4 separate regions of the Homo sapiens genome follow, and regions 1, 2 and 3 are each linked to region 4. Evidence: promoter capture Hi-C in 16 types of primary human blood cells and fetal thymus (Javierre and others, 2016). All regions are on one chromosome and are shown on one strand. The core of a region is centred on a gene start or on the middle of the fragment in contact, and the rest is flanking DNA. Distances in the headings are between cores, read along the strand shown. Region 1 holds the start of MRGBP (MRG domain binding protein). Region 2 overlaps TCFL5 (transcription factor like 5). Region 3 overlaps COL9A3 (collagen type IX alpha 3 chain). Region 4 holds the start of SLCO4A1-AS1 (SLCO4A1 antisense RNA 1).

The links. Contacts are between HindIII fragments. The CHiCAGO score rates a contact against its expected background, and 5 or more counts as called.
Region 1: the fragment with the promoter of MRGBP here is called in contact with the fragment with the promoter of SLCO4A1-AS1 in region 4 in 12 of 17 cell types (neutrophils, endothelial precursors, monocytes and 9 more); the score reaches 10.3 in neutrophils.
Region 2: a fragment that was not itself captured here is called in contact with the fragment with the promoter of SLCO4A1-AS1 in region 4 in 2 of 17 cell types (neutrophils and monocytes); the score reaches 7.4 in neutrophils.
Region 3: a fragment that was not itself captured here is called in contact with the fragment with the promoter of SLCO4A1-AS1 in region 4 in 2 of 17 cell types (monocytes and neutrophils); the score reaches 6.0 in monocytes.

Annotation. Positions count from the first base shown.
Region 1 is chr20:62,795,022-62,797,790 of GRCh38, forward strand. It overlaps MRGBP (MRG domain binding protein), which reads left to right and starts at 1,452. Exons shown (of 5, transcript NM_018270.6): 1 at 1,452-1,650; 2 at 2,089-2,210. The coding sequence starts at 1,503. RefSeq lists an enhancer at 49-595 and a silencer at 1,219-1,758. The HindIII fragment of the contact is 13,279 bases long and covers 1-2,769 here.
Region 2 is chr20:62,856,334-62,859,197 of GRCh38, forward strand. It overlaps TCFL5 (transcription factor like 5), which reads right to left. Exons shown (of 6, transcript NM_006602.4): 4 at 1,062-1,305. Among named protein-coding and RNA genes, the nearest start is that of TCFL5, 4.1 kb to the right of the region's middle. The HindIII fragment of the contact is 1,257 bases long and covers 758-2,014 here.
Region 3 is chr20:62,834,636-62,837,335 of GRCh38, forward strand. COL9A3 (collagen type IX alpha 3 chain) reads left to right here. Exons shown (of 32, transcript NM_001853.4): 27 at 1,286-1,318; 28 at 1,552-1,698; 29 at 1,843-1,897; 30 at 2,448-2,630. Among named protein-coding and RNA genes, the nearest start is that of COL9A3, 19 kb to the left of the region's middle. RefSeq lists an enhancer at 1,154-2,353. The HindIII fragment of the contact is 341 bases long and covers 1,094-1,434 here.
Region 4 is chr20:62,665,152-62,667,992 of GRCh38, forward strand. SLCO4A1-AS1 (SLCO4A1 antisense RNA 1) reads right to left here and starts at 1,470. Exons shown (of 4, transcript NR_024470.1): 1 at 1,234-1,470; 2 at 709-859; 3 at 1-346. SLCO4A1 (solute carrier organic anion transporter family member 4A1) reads left to right here. Exons shown (of 12, transcript NM_016354.4): 7 at 1,229-1,424; 8 at 2,594-2,759. The HindIII fragment of the contact is 12,915 bases long and covers 1-2,465 here.

The sequences.
Region 1 (2,769 bases), core at 202-2,701, 130 kb after region 4:
AATTAGCCGGCCGTGGTGAGCGCCTGTAGTCCCAGCTACCCGGGAGTCTGAGGCAGTAGAATCGCTTGAACCCAAGAGGCAGAGGTTGCAGTGAGGCGAGATCGTGCCATTGCACCCCAGCCCGGGCAACAGAGCGAGACTCTGCCTCAAAAACAAACAAAAAAGAAGCCGGTCCCCATCCGCAGTGACTCGCGTTTCCCTCCCCCTCCCCCGTCCCCGGCAACCGTGCATCTACTTTCTATTCCTATGGAGTTGCCAGTTCTGGCTCTTCCTGTGAATGGATTCCCATGCTGTGTATTTTCGTGTCTGAATTCTCTGACTTTCGTCTCAGCCCGCACCCACGCTGCCGCAGTCCGCGCTCGCTGCTTTTAGGCTGAACGCGGCTGCGCCGTGCGGGTGCCCGCGCTCCGGGCGCCCCTCGCAGGTTCAGCCCCGGGTTGGGGGCGGCGCTTGCCTCGCGGCTGCGGGTCCCAGCCTGAACCTGTGTCTTGTTCCACTGCCGCGGGCGCCCGCCACGGAGCTGCTGCTTCCTAGGGAGACGGTTCCATCGTTGAAGGAACGGCCAGACTGTCTTTCGCAGCAGCGGCCCATCTGACCGCACAGCACGACCGCACGAGGGTCCCGAGCCCTGACCCTCGCAGCACTCGTCACCCCGGCCGCGTGGTTGTGGCGGTCTCGGCGGGGCAGGGGGTCCCCACGCGGGCTGATTCTAGTTTCGCGTGACCGATGGTGCTCATTAGCCATATCTGTACATCTTTTTTTTTTTTTCGAGTCGGAGTTTCGCTCTTGTTGCCCAGGCTGGATTGCAATGGCGCGATCTCGGCTCACTGCCTCCCGGGTTCAAGCGATTCTCCTGCCTCAGCCTCCCGAGTAACTGGGATTACAGGCGCCCGCCACTACGCCCGGCTACTTTTTTTGTATTTTTAGTAGAGACGGGGTTATACGATGTTGGCCAGGCTTGTCTCGAACTCCTGACCTCAGGTGATCCGCCCGCCTCGGCCCCCCAAAGTGCTGGGATTACAGGCGTGAGCCACCGCGCCCGGCCCATCTGTACATCTTCTTTGGAAAAATGTGTATCCAAATCCTTAGCCGTTTTATAGTTAGATTGTCTTTTTATTATCGAGTTATAAGAATTATTTATACCTTCTACAAGGAAGTTCATTATCAGATATAGGATTTGCAAATATTTTCTCTCATCTGTGGGTCGTCTTTTCACTTTTCTGATGGTTTCCTTTGAAGCACAGACTTTTTTGTTTGGGTGCAGTGTATTTCTTACTGTGCTTTAAAGAGGAACACGTTTTAAGAACCCCCGCGCGGGGCGGAGCAGGGCGGAGTCCCCGGCGGGAAGGGACCCGAGACCTCGGCTGCGCCTGCGCCGACGCCGGCGCGTGAGCCCGAGCGCGTACCCGGCGGAGCGCGCGCCCGCCCCCGAGTGCGCCTGCGCGGAGCTCGTGGCCGCGCCTGCTCCCGCCGGGGGCTCCTTGCTCGGCCGGGCCGCGGCCATGGGAGAGGCCGAGGTGGGCGGCGGGGGCGCCGCAGGCGACAAGGGCCCGGGGGAGGCGGCCACCAGCCCGGCGGAGGAGACAGTGGTGTGGAGCCCCGAGGTGGAGGTGTGCCTCTTCCACGCCATGCTGGGCCACAAGCCCGTCGGTGAGCGCCCAGGCTGCGGACGCGCGTGGGGGCGGGGCGGGCAACCGGCGGGGCGGGGCGGGGCCTGCGCTCGCGACACCCTCGCCCCCACGCTCCCCGCCGAGCCCGGGCCGTGACACCGCCGCCACACCCGTCCCGGGACCCCCGCCCCCTCCCACGCGCCCTTCGGACCCCGCCCCGGACCCCGCCCACGACCCCTACCCCCGTGAGACCGCGAGGTCCCAGCCCGCAGTGCCCCACCCCCACCCCCGCCCCGGGACAGCCCACCCCCTCCCACACACACCACCCAGCCCTGCCCCCCCACAGCCCCTCCACACCCTGGCCCTCCCCATCTCTCCGCAGCCACCCTTGCCCCTCCAGTCCCCAGGGCAGCCCGTCCCCTCCATCCCCTTTCTCCTCACCGCTCACCGGTTATCCCGCCGCCCCTCCTCCCCTCAGGTGTGAACCGACACTTCCACATGATTTGTATTCGGGACAAGTTCAGCCAGAACATCGGGCGGCAGGTCCCATCCAAGGTCATCTGGGACCATCTGAGCACCATGTACGACATGCAGGCGCTGGTGAGCCCAACCGCCCTCCCTGTGCCGCCCGATGGGGGCACGAACCCGCACACCGCTCTCTGAGAGTCAGCCTGAGCTGGGCAGAGGCCCCTCCATGTCTGCTGGGGTCTGCTGGGCAGAGTAGAGGCCCCTCCATGCCTGCTGGGGTCTGCAGTGAGCTCTCAGGGTCAGCCTGAGCTGGGCAGAGGCCCCTCCGTGCCTGCTGGGGTCCCCTGGGCAGAGACCCCTGCAGTGAGGCTCGTCCTTAAGGAGGACATCCCGGGGCTCCAGAGCCTGTCATGGAAAGCACAAACACAGTGCTAGCAGCTGGCTAGCTTTTCAGGGGCTCTGCTTTAGACTGGGTGCTGGGCCAGAGTCTCCAGCTGAGACCCTGGGGAGGGAGGGAAGGATGCAGAGTCCCGGGCCCTTAGGCCATTGTCAGCCTCCTGGGAGGCCCCCGAAGTGCTTTAGGCAGAGGGTGACCCTATCTGAGTCACACCAAGGTGAATTTGGTGACTTCTGTGGGAGTCAGACAAGTAGAGTTCCAGTCCTCGCAGAGCTTGGAGCTGGCACTGTGTGA
Region 2 (2,864 bases), core at 136-2,635, 190 kb after region 4:
GGATACCACAAATAAAATCTACAGACAAAACCACTTAAATAACAATTTTAACCTCTTCCTTCCCAGCAATCTTAAAAGAACCAGGCAATAGCCAGGAGCGGTGGCTCACACCTGTAATCCCAGCACTTTGGGAGGCCGAGGCGGGCAGATCACGAGGTCAGGAGATCAAGACCATCCTGGCTAACATGCTGAAACCCCGTCTCTACTAAAAAATACAAAAAAATTAGCCAGGTGTGGTGGCAGGCGCCTGTAGTCCCAGCTACTCAGGAGGCTGAGGCAGGAGAACGGCATGAACCCGGGAGGCGGAGCTTCCAGTGAGCAGAGATCGCGCCACTGCACTCCAGCCTGGGCGACAGAGCAAGACTCCGTCTCAAAAAAAAAAAAAAAAAAAAAGAACCAGGCAAAACTTGCTGAACTCAAGCTGGCTGGTAAGCAGCAGTTACCAAAACAGCCTGACCACTCTCCTCAGAAAGGCCTGCAGTCAGGGCTGGCCCTTAGTGGAGTCTGCAAACCTAGATTCAGGGAGTTAAGAGTGCCCCCAGAACCTACACTGTGCAAACGATATGGCTGACACTGAACAACTGCTTTCCTTCTGGGAGACTGGACTGTGGTTGCATGCATGGGGGCAGTGCCTACGTGACACGCCCCTGGTCTCTAGCGAGCTTTCCTGGTTGGCAACACCTCACCCACGTTTTCAGACCACATGGCTGGGGGCATGAGGGGCAACCTGCCTGACTCCACAGGGCGCGCTCTTAGAAGCTTGCACCTCAGCTCCTGCCTTCTCCCCACGCGCCTTTGCTGATCGCACCTGGCATCCTTTCTCCATAGTAAGTCACAGCCTGAGAGTGACTGCATGCGGAGTCCCGGGAGTCCTCCTAGTGAGCCAGCGAGCCTGGGCATAGTCTGGGGGATCCTTGATCCATCTGGGAAAGCTAACGATGCTCCTACCTGCTTTATTCCCTCTGAACGCAGAAACGGCTAAGGATCACTCATCTGTGATAACCATGTATGACTAAGGTAATCATATATGAGTCAGCCTGACAAGCAGTCACACGTATTACCTTCTATCTCTTTCCATTCGGTTATGCCTCTCCCTACGTTGAGACCTTCCTCCCTGGGGCCCACTCTGGGCCTGCTCCCCCAGGTTTGCCTGTGAGGACTCCGAGGACTGCCAAGCGCCTTGTGTGGCGGTGGCACCTTCGCCCACATTCTGAATCTCTCCAAGGGCTCTTCGCTCTACATTTGTGTCCAACTGACGCATTCTACTCCGATTCCTCTTCAGTGCTTGTTTGCATAGCGCTGCTTCTTTGCGAAAGAAGAAAAAAGTGGTTTTTAATTTTGTATTCTTATCTCAATTAATGCTGAATACAGTTTTGGCCTTTTCAATCCAAGATATAAACATTATTGGGTAAGCAGCACAGAGAACCGAAACACAAAGAGATGTACTAATGCAGTTTTTCAGCATCAGCAGGGACCATGAAGCCCAAGCCTATTTTATACAACGAAACTGAACAAGAATCAATCATCACACTAAATACGTTTTCCAAGTGCTATGCAACCAATATGACCTCATCCAAAGCCCCTCTTTTTAATTAACAGGTGTTATCTATGAATACAGAAAACAAGAAGTTGTTTACTTTTTCTAAAGGTCAGAATGGAAAAAAAAAAACAACAACAACAAACCACCTGGACATATTTCCTCCCAAAAATATTTTCTTTATATACAATTATTCTAAGAACAAGAAAAAAAAACAATTATTCTAATATGACAGTATTTTTACTGCAATGCTCAGAACAAAACTGCAGCAGCGTGTGTGTGTGCCCTCGCCGCAGAAGTGGCTCTCCTCCCCAAAGCAGGAAGAAGTAGCGTCCGAGCTTTTCTGCTGCGTGACAGGCTATGCCACGTGTGCGTCAGTGGAACTGTATCCATCAAAGGACCACAGGCACGTGACTGGCAGGCGTGCTCATGTGCACGCGTATGCCACACAAAGCACCCATTTCAGAAGGATGATGAAGCTTTCAGCAGGAGAGAGAGGAATTCGGTCGTTTTGGTGATATTTTATTCCTTAACCTGAGTAGTCGGCACAGAGGCTGCTTTAATACTCATCTTTGTATCTTACAAATGTGAACATATACTTTGGCATAAAATTTTATAGGGAGGAAAAGGAAGGACTGACATGGGAGAAGGCGGTAGCTCTTCCTCCCCATCTTGTCTTCACCAACTCTTGGAAAGCTAAGTGTAAGGAGTGTTCTTTTTTCGGGTCACTTCACAAATCAGTTTCCCAGGGAGGAAGGGGCTACGCAGGTGTTTCCCAGGGAGGAAGGGGCTATGCAGGTGTTTCCCAGGGAGGAAGGGGCTACGCAGGTGTTTCCCAGGGAGGAAGGGGCTACGCAGGTGTTTCCCAGGGAGGAAGGGGCTACGCAGGTGTTTCCCAGGGAGGAAGGGGCTACGCAGGTGTTTCCCAGGGAGGAAGGGGCTACGCAGGTGTTTCCCAGGGAGGAAGGGGCTACGCAGGTGTTTCCCAGGGAGGAAGGGACTATGCAGGTTAGCGCAGCAGTGCCTTCAGCAGTGACTTTATTTCCAAACTTTCCGAATCACCTTACAGCCTCTCCCTGGCAGCCCTAATAGGGTCCTCCTATTAGCAGCCACCTATCCAAAGGCTTTCGGCAGATGTTAGATGACTGCCTCACTCATCGAGTATAACATAAGGAAAATAAAAAACTATAAAGTACTTTCAGTAACTTGAAAATAACTGAAAATTTATGTAAGTCTATCACTTTACTGTTAAGAAAAAGCCCTCAAACGCAACGTTCTCACACCAAGATTAATTATGTTTGAGAATCAGAATAATGTTTAAAGCGAA
Region 3 (2,700 bases), core at 14-2,513, 170 kb after region 4:
AGTGAATTCTTTTTTTATTTTTTTTTGAGACGGAGTCTTGCTCTGTCCCCAGGCTGGAGTGCGGTGGTGTGATCTCAGCTCACTGCAATCTCTGCCTCCTGCGTTCAAGCGATTCTCCTGCCTCAGCCTCCCGAGTAGCTGGGACTACAGGTGCCCACCATCACACCCGGCTAATTTTTGTATTTAGTAGAGATGGGGTTTCACCATGTTGGCCGGGCTGGTCTCAAACTCCTGACCTTGTGATCCGCTCGCCTTGGCCTCCCAAAGTGCTGGGATTACAGGCGTGAGCCACCTCGCCCAGCCCATTTAGTGAATTCTTAGACAACACTGACAAATGGACCCTGGAAATCCCAGAAGCTGCCCTACGTGGCCACTGTTGCTGGTGGGGTGAGGGGCAGAGCCCCTTGCAGGCGGAAAACCTAAGGCTTTGCTCTCAGCTACTCGCACGGTCGGGCTGTGTGAGGTGACCCCCTACCCTCCTGGCCTCCGCGGAGCATGCTGTCTGGGCCCGGTCGGTCCCTCTGCTGTGCGGTTAGACTGTGTCAGTCTGTATTCTGCAGCTGTAACAGAACACCGCAGCTTGGGTAGTTTACAAGGGAAAGAGATCCATGTGGCTCCTAGTTCTGGAGGCTGGGAAGCCCAAGACCGAGGGGTGCATCCATCGAGGGCCTCCCCACTGCGTCATTCCATGGTGGAAGGCAGAAGGGCCAAGAGGAGGTGCCAGAGAGAGAAAGGGGCCCAACCCATCCTTTTCATGAGGAACCCACTGCGGAGACAACGGTGTTAGTTTACTCCGGAGAGCCGAGCTCTCAAACCTAATCACCTCTTAATAGCATTGCAGTGCAGTGGCCGTTCAATTGCAGCATGTGTTTTGGAGGAGACATTAACCCGGCTGACTGTGTGTTGACGCACCTGGGGCCAGTCATTCCTGAGGACCCAGCTGGAGGGGGTTCCAGGGTTTTAGGGCAGAGAGGTTCAGCCCAGCATTAGGCGTGTTAGTAAGAAAAAGGAATGGAAGCAAAGTAAGCGTGTGTAAGAGACAGCACCGTGCAGCTAACAAAGTCACTCTTCCCAGGAAAGTAAGTTTTTAAAAAGCTTCAATCAATCAGTGCAATCACAGAAATATAAAAAATGTATATAGAAGAACGGAAGGAACCACTGTCAATATTTGGATGTAGTCTAATAGCAGGTGTGTGGATGATTTGATTTATTTTATCCTCAACTGGCTACTTCCCACCCACCCAACAATACACTTAGTTCAAACACACAACTTTTCTCTTCACAGGGTCCCAGCGGCCTGGTCGGACCCAAAGGAGAGGTGAGTGCCCGGCGACTGTTCCGATGACACCATCCATGGGCGCCTGCTGGCTTCCTGCCCACCTCTGGGCAACCAGGCAGCCCTGCAGGGCACTGCCCAGATCCGAGATGTAAAAAAGCTTGCTCTGGTCAAGGCTGGGCAAGACGGCTCCGTGCCGGCTGGGAAAGAGCACGTCGGGGTGGCTCTGGGCTCCTGGGCTCGCCCCTGACCCACCTTCCTCTGTTCCTCTGCAGTCTGGCAGTCGAGGGGAGCTGGGCCCCAAAGGCACCCAGGGTCCCAACGGCACCAGCGGTGTTCAGGGTGTCCCCGGGCCCCCCGGTCCTCTGGGCCTGCAGGGCGTCCCGGGTGTTCCTGGCATCACGGGGAAGCCGGGAGTTCCGGTACGTCGCTTTTCCGGCTTTTCCAGCTTTCACAGGGTTGAGATCGTGTTTTTTCCGGAAGGAAGTTACTTTGCGGGGTGACGGTGGGAATGCCTCACCGAGGCTGCCGCCCCCATGCTGACGAATGTGTGGGGTGAATTCCAGGGGAAGGAGGCCAGCGAGCAGCGCATCAGGGAGCTGTGTGGGGGGATGATCAGCGGTAAGTCAGCCACGTGCACCGGCTGCAGCGGGGCCCATCCCCGCCTGGGGGTCCCGTGCCTGGGGCTACACAGAAAGCCTTCGTGCCACTGCTTTCCAGCCAAAGTGAGCCCCTAGCACTCACCCCGCCTGTTAGCCCTTGGGGGTCCACGTCCGCCTTGGCGTCTGCCTGTCCTCTGCGCTAGAGGATGGCCCACGCTCCCGCCCCGGATTCAACCAGATTCCCAGCACGCAGCAGACGCCCTAAAGCCTGCTGAATGCAATGGGTACAAGAACAGCGGAGTGTGCCCCTGTGGCTGGCAGGGCAGGTCCCTAAACACCCCCAAGGGCACTTCCTTCACCTTCCCACTCAGGCTTCTCAGGCTCCAAGGGGTTGGGGGTCCTTTCTAGCTCCAGCATTCATCACCCCAAAGCAGTTAAACCATTTTCCATCAATCAGAAGGAAAACTTGCTTCTGGAAGACAGCACCGTGTAGATATTTTATGCTTTACGTAACAATACTTCTGATGATCCTCTCTCGAGTAAACGCCTGCACCCTTGTTTTCCCAAAGAACAAATTGCACAGTTAGCCGCGCACCTAAGGAAGCCTTTGGCACCCGGGTCCATTGGTCGGCCCGGTCCAGCTGGCCCCCCTGGGCCCCCAGGACCCCCAGGCTCCATTGGTCACCCTGGCGCTCGAGGACCCCCTGGATACCGCGGTCCCACTGGGGAGCTGGGAGACCCCGGGCCCAGAGGTGAGTGTTTGACCCCATGACACGGTCACCCTGCTGTAAAAATCCCTGAGACTGACTTGTTAGTAGGCGC
Region 4 (2,841 bases), core at 220-2,719:
AGGGCATCTTCTAGAAAGACCCAGACAGGGCACATGGCAGTGAGTGCCCTCCCACCCCCGCTGCCAGAGCAGGTGTGGAGAGCGCCACGGGGGCTGAGCGACTCTGTCCACAGGCCGGGAGAGTGGTGGTCCTGCCCTCTTTGTGGGACATGCTCCGTAGGTGGAAGGGTCCACGGTGGGCTCCACCCCCTAGCCACCTAGTCTTGGCTTCTGTGACTTGGTGCAGGAAGGGTTTGGACCTGGCTGTTCCATGAGCCAGGCACTGGTGCCTCAGGACCTCCTGGAACAGTGCAGCTGGGGGTTTCTCGGTGCCAGAGGCAGGCTGGCCTTCCCAGGCTGGGCAGGTCTGCAGAAAGTGGGGACCCCTCCTCAGAGCTGCTCCTCCTGCCAGCGTTCACAGAGTACCCTGGGCCATGGCAGAGGTGCCAGGCATGTGGGCCACCACCGCCAATCTACCGCGCTCTACCCTTCCAGGGTCCACTATCTGGACAGGAAGAGGGCATCAGATGAGGGCTCCCCTCCCTCCCCCACAGGCCCATCCTGGCCTGGCCCCTCTGGGCTGACCTCACAAGCCCACATTCCCACACTCAACAGCCCCCCAGAGGTCAGCTCTACTGCCCCTTGGAGAGCCTCCCCACCTGTCCCCCCAAATCTGTCCCCTCCCCACCTGTCCCCCCAAACCTGTCCCCTCTCCACCTGTCCCCTCACCTGTGCCCTCCTCACTTGTCAGCCCAGAAGCTAGATGCCAGCTAATCGCAATTTTTTACTGTTGGTGGCCACTCAGGCTTCGACAAATGTCCTTGTCACAGCCTGCAGGGACTCGGCAGAGGCCCCTGGGGGAGGAGGGGGTGTGGCTGCCCTGGAGGGGGGTCAGTGGAGGAGTCATTGGCTTCCCACTGGGGCAGGGGCCGCTGACCTTGGAGCACTCTGGGCTCTCCTCCTCCCCCCGCCCCGCCCCGCCCCCCCGCTCCCCCTTCCCCTTCCCCTTCCCCTTCCCCTTCCCCTCTGAGGCATCCCCGCTGTGGGCTCTGGACAGAGGTCCCTCCTAGGGCTCTATCAGCGCAACAGCTAAGCACTCAGGTGTGGTGTTGAGTGCTGCCATGCAGGCAGGAATTGATCCCTCTATGCCTCAGTTTCCCCACCTGTAAAGTGGACCCGGCTGATCCACCACCCTCTCCCACCACGGCCCCCTGCCTGAGTCCCTGGCTGAATCCCTCCCTCTCCCCAGGGTACCTGGTGGTGCCAGCGGGTGGTGGCGGCACCTTCCTGGGCGGCTTCTTTGTGAACAAGCTCAGGCTCCGGGGCTCCGCGGTCATCAAGTTCTGCCTGTTCTGCACCGTTGTCAGCCTGCTGGGCATCCTCGTCTTCTCACTGCACTGCCCCAGTGTGCCCATGGCGGGCGTCACAGCCAGCTACGGCGGGAGGTGAGGGCCAGATGGCACCTGGGTACGCGTCGGGGCCCCAAGCACCCGCGGTCCCTGGGCATGGAGGAGGAGTGGTGCAGCACTTGGGAGAGGTGGTTTTGAAAAGGGCTACGTCACAGGACAGCGGCAAGGGCAACACCCGCTCAGCAGGGCACCCGGCAGCATCCACGTGAAAAGGCACCATGCCAGCCCCCAGCAGTGCCTGCGCTTGGGTCCCGGCTGTGCCCCCGGGCAGTCATATGCCTCTCTGGGCCTCAGCACTCTGCTCTGTAGCTGTGTCAAATGGAACAACAGCCCTAGTGTTCGGGGTCCTTGAGGCTGGTCTCTCGGTGACATAAAAAGTGTCCCAGGATGTGCTCCTGGAGTTGCCATGTGCTGGGAGTGGGAGGGACACCTGCTGGTCAGGTGGCAATTAGGGAATATCCAAAATACACGTAGGTAGCCTGCACCTCGGCCCTGCCCTGCGGGCCCCGGGAGTGCACCTGCAGGTGCCGTGCAAGGCCGAGAAGCACAAAGCAGCCGTTGTGGCATTATCGGAACCTAAGAGTCATCAGGGTGGACGGGGTCACTACGCTGTCCTCACAACAGAGGCCCTGCCCACAAAGGAGTGGAGGAAGCTCATCCTGGGCCACTGCCAAGACATACTGTGAAGTGGGAAAAAGGAAGGAGTTGGACAATGGGCGCAGTGTGCTCTGATTCAAGTGAGAAGTGCAGATGTTTGTGACTGCCGAGGGGCGTGTACGTGCAGACGACCCCTGCAAATGCACAGCCGGCCTGTGGCTGGAGAACCGAGGACTGGGGTGGGGCTGGGGCCACGAGGCTGCCTTTGTGTACTTGGCGCTTTTTCTTTCCTAATGTTTGTATTTGATCCATATGAATGTGTTGCCTGTCCAAAAACAAATGAACTAGGGAAAGGGGCTGTGCATCAGGCGGACGGTGCTGGGGGGCATGGGTGTGCCTTCCTTGCGTGAGGAGGAAAAACCATTCTATCACCAGAAGGCAGTGCCCAGTGTGAGTGCCCAGCGTGCTGGGGGCGGTGCAAGCTTGGCAAGTTTGTAGACCCGAAATGCAGGCTGCATGGGGACGAGCCCCATGGCTGACCCTGTGCCTGCTGGGCGCCAGCATGGCTCTGGCCTGGACCCTACCACTCGCTTGTCCCCCCTCTGCAGCCTCCTGCCCGAAGGCCACCTGAACCTAACGGCTCCCTGCAACGCTGCCTGCAGCTGCCAGCCAGAACACTACAGCCCTGTGTGCGGCTCGGACGGCCTCATGTACTTCTCACTGTGCCACGCAGGGTGCCCTGCAGCCACGGAGACGAATGTGGACGGCCAGAAGGTGAGTGGAGCCGCTGCCTACCGCCCCTGTCCTCCCCTGGACCCTGGGAAGGGGCCCCCGTGCCTTCCCCTTGTAATCGGAG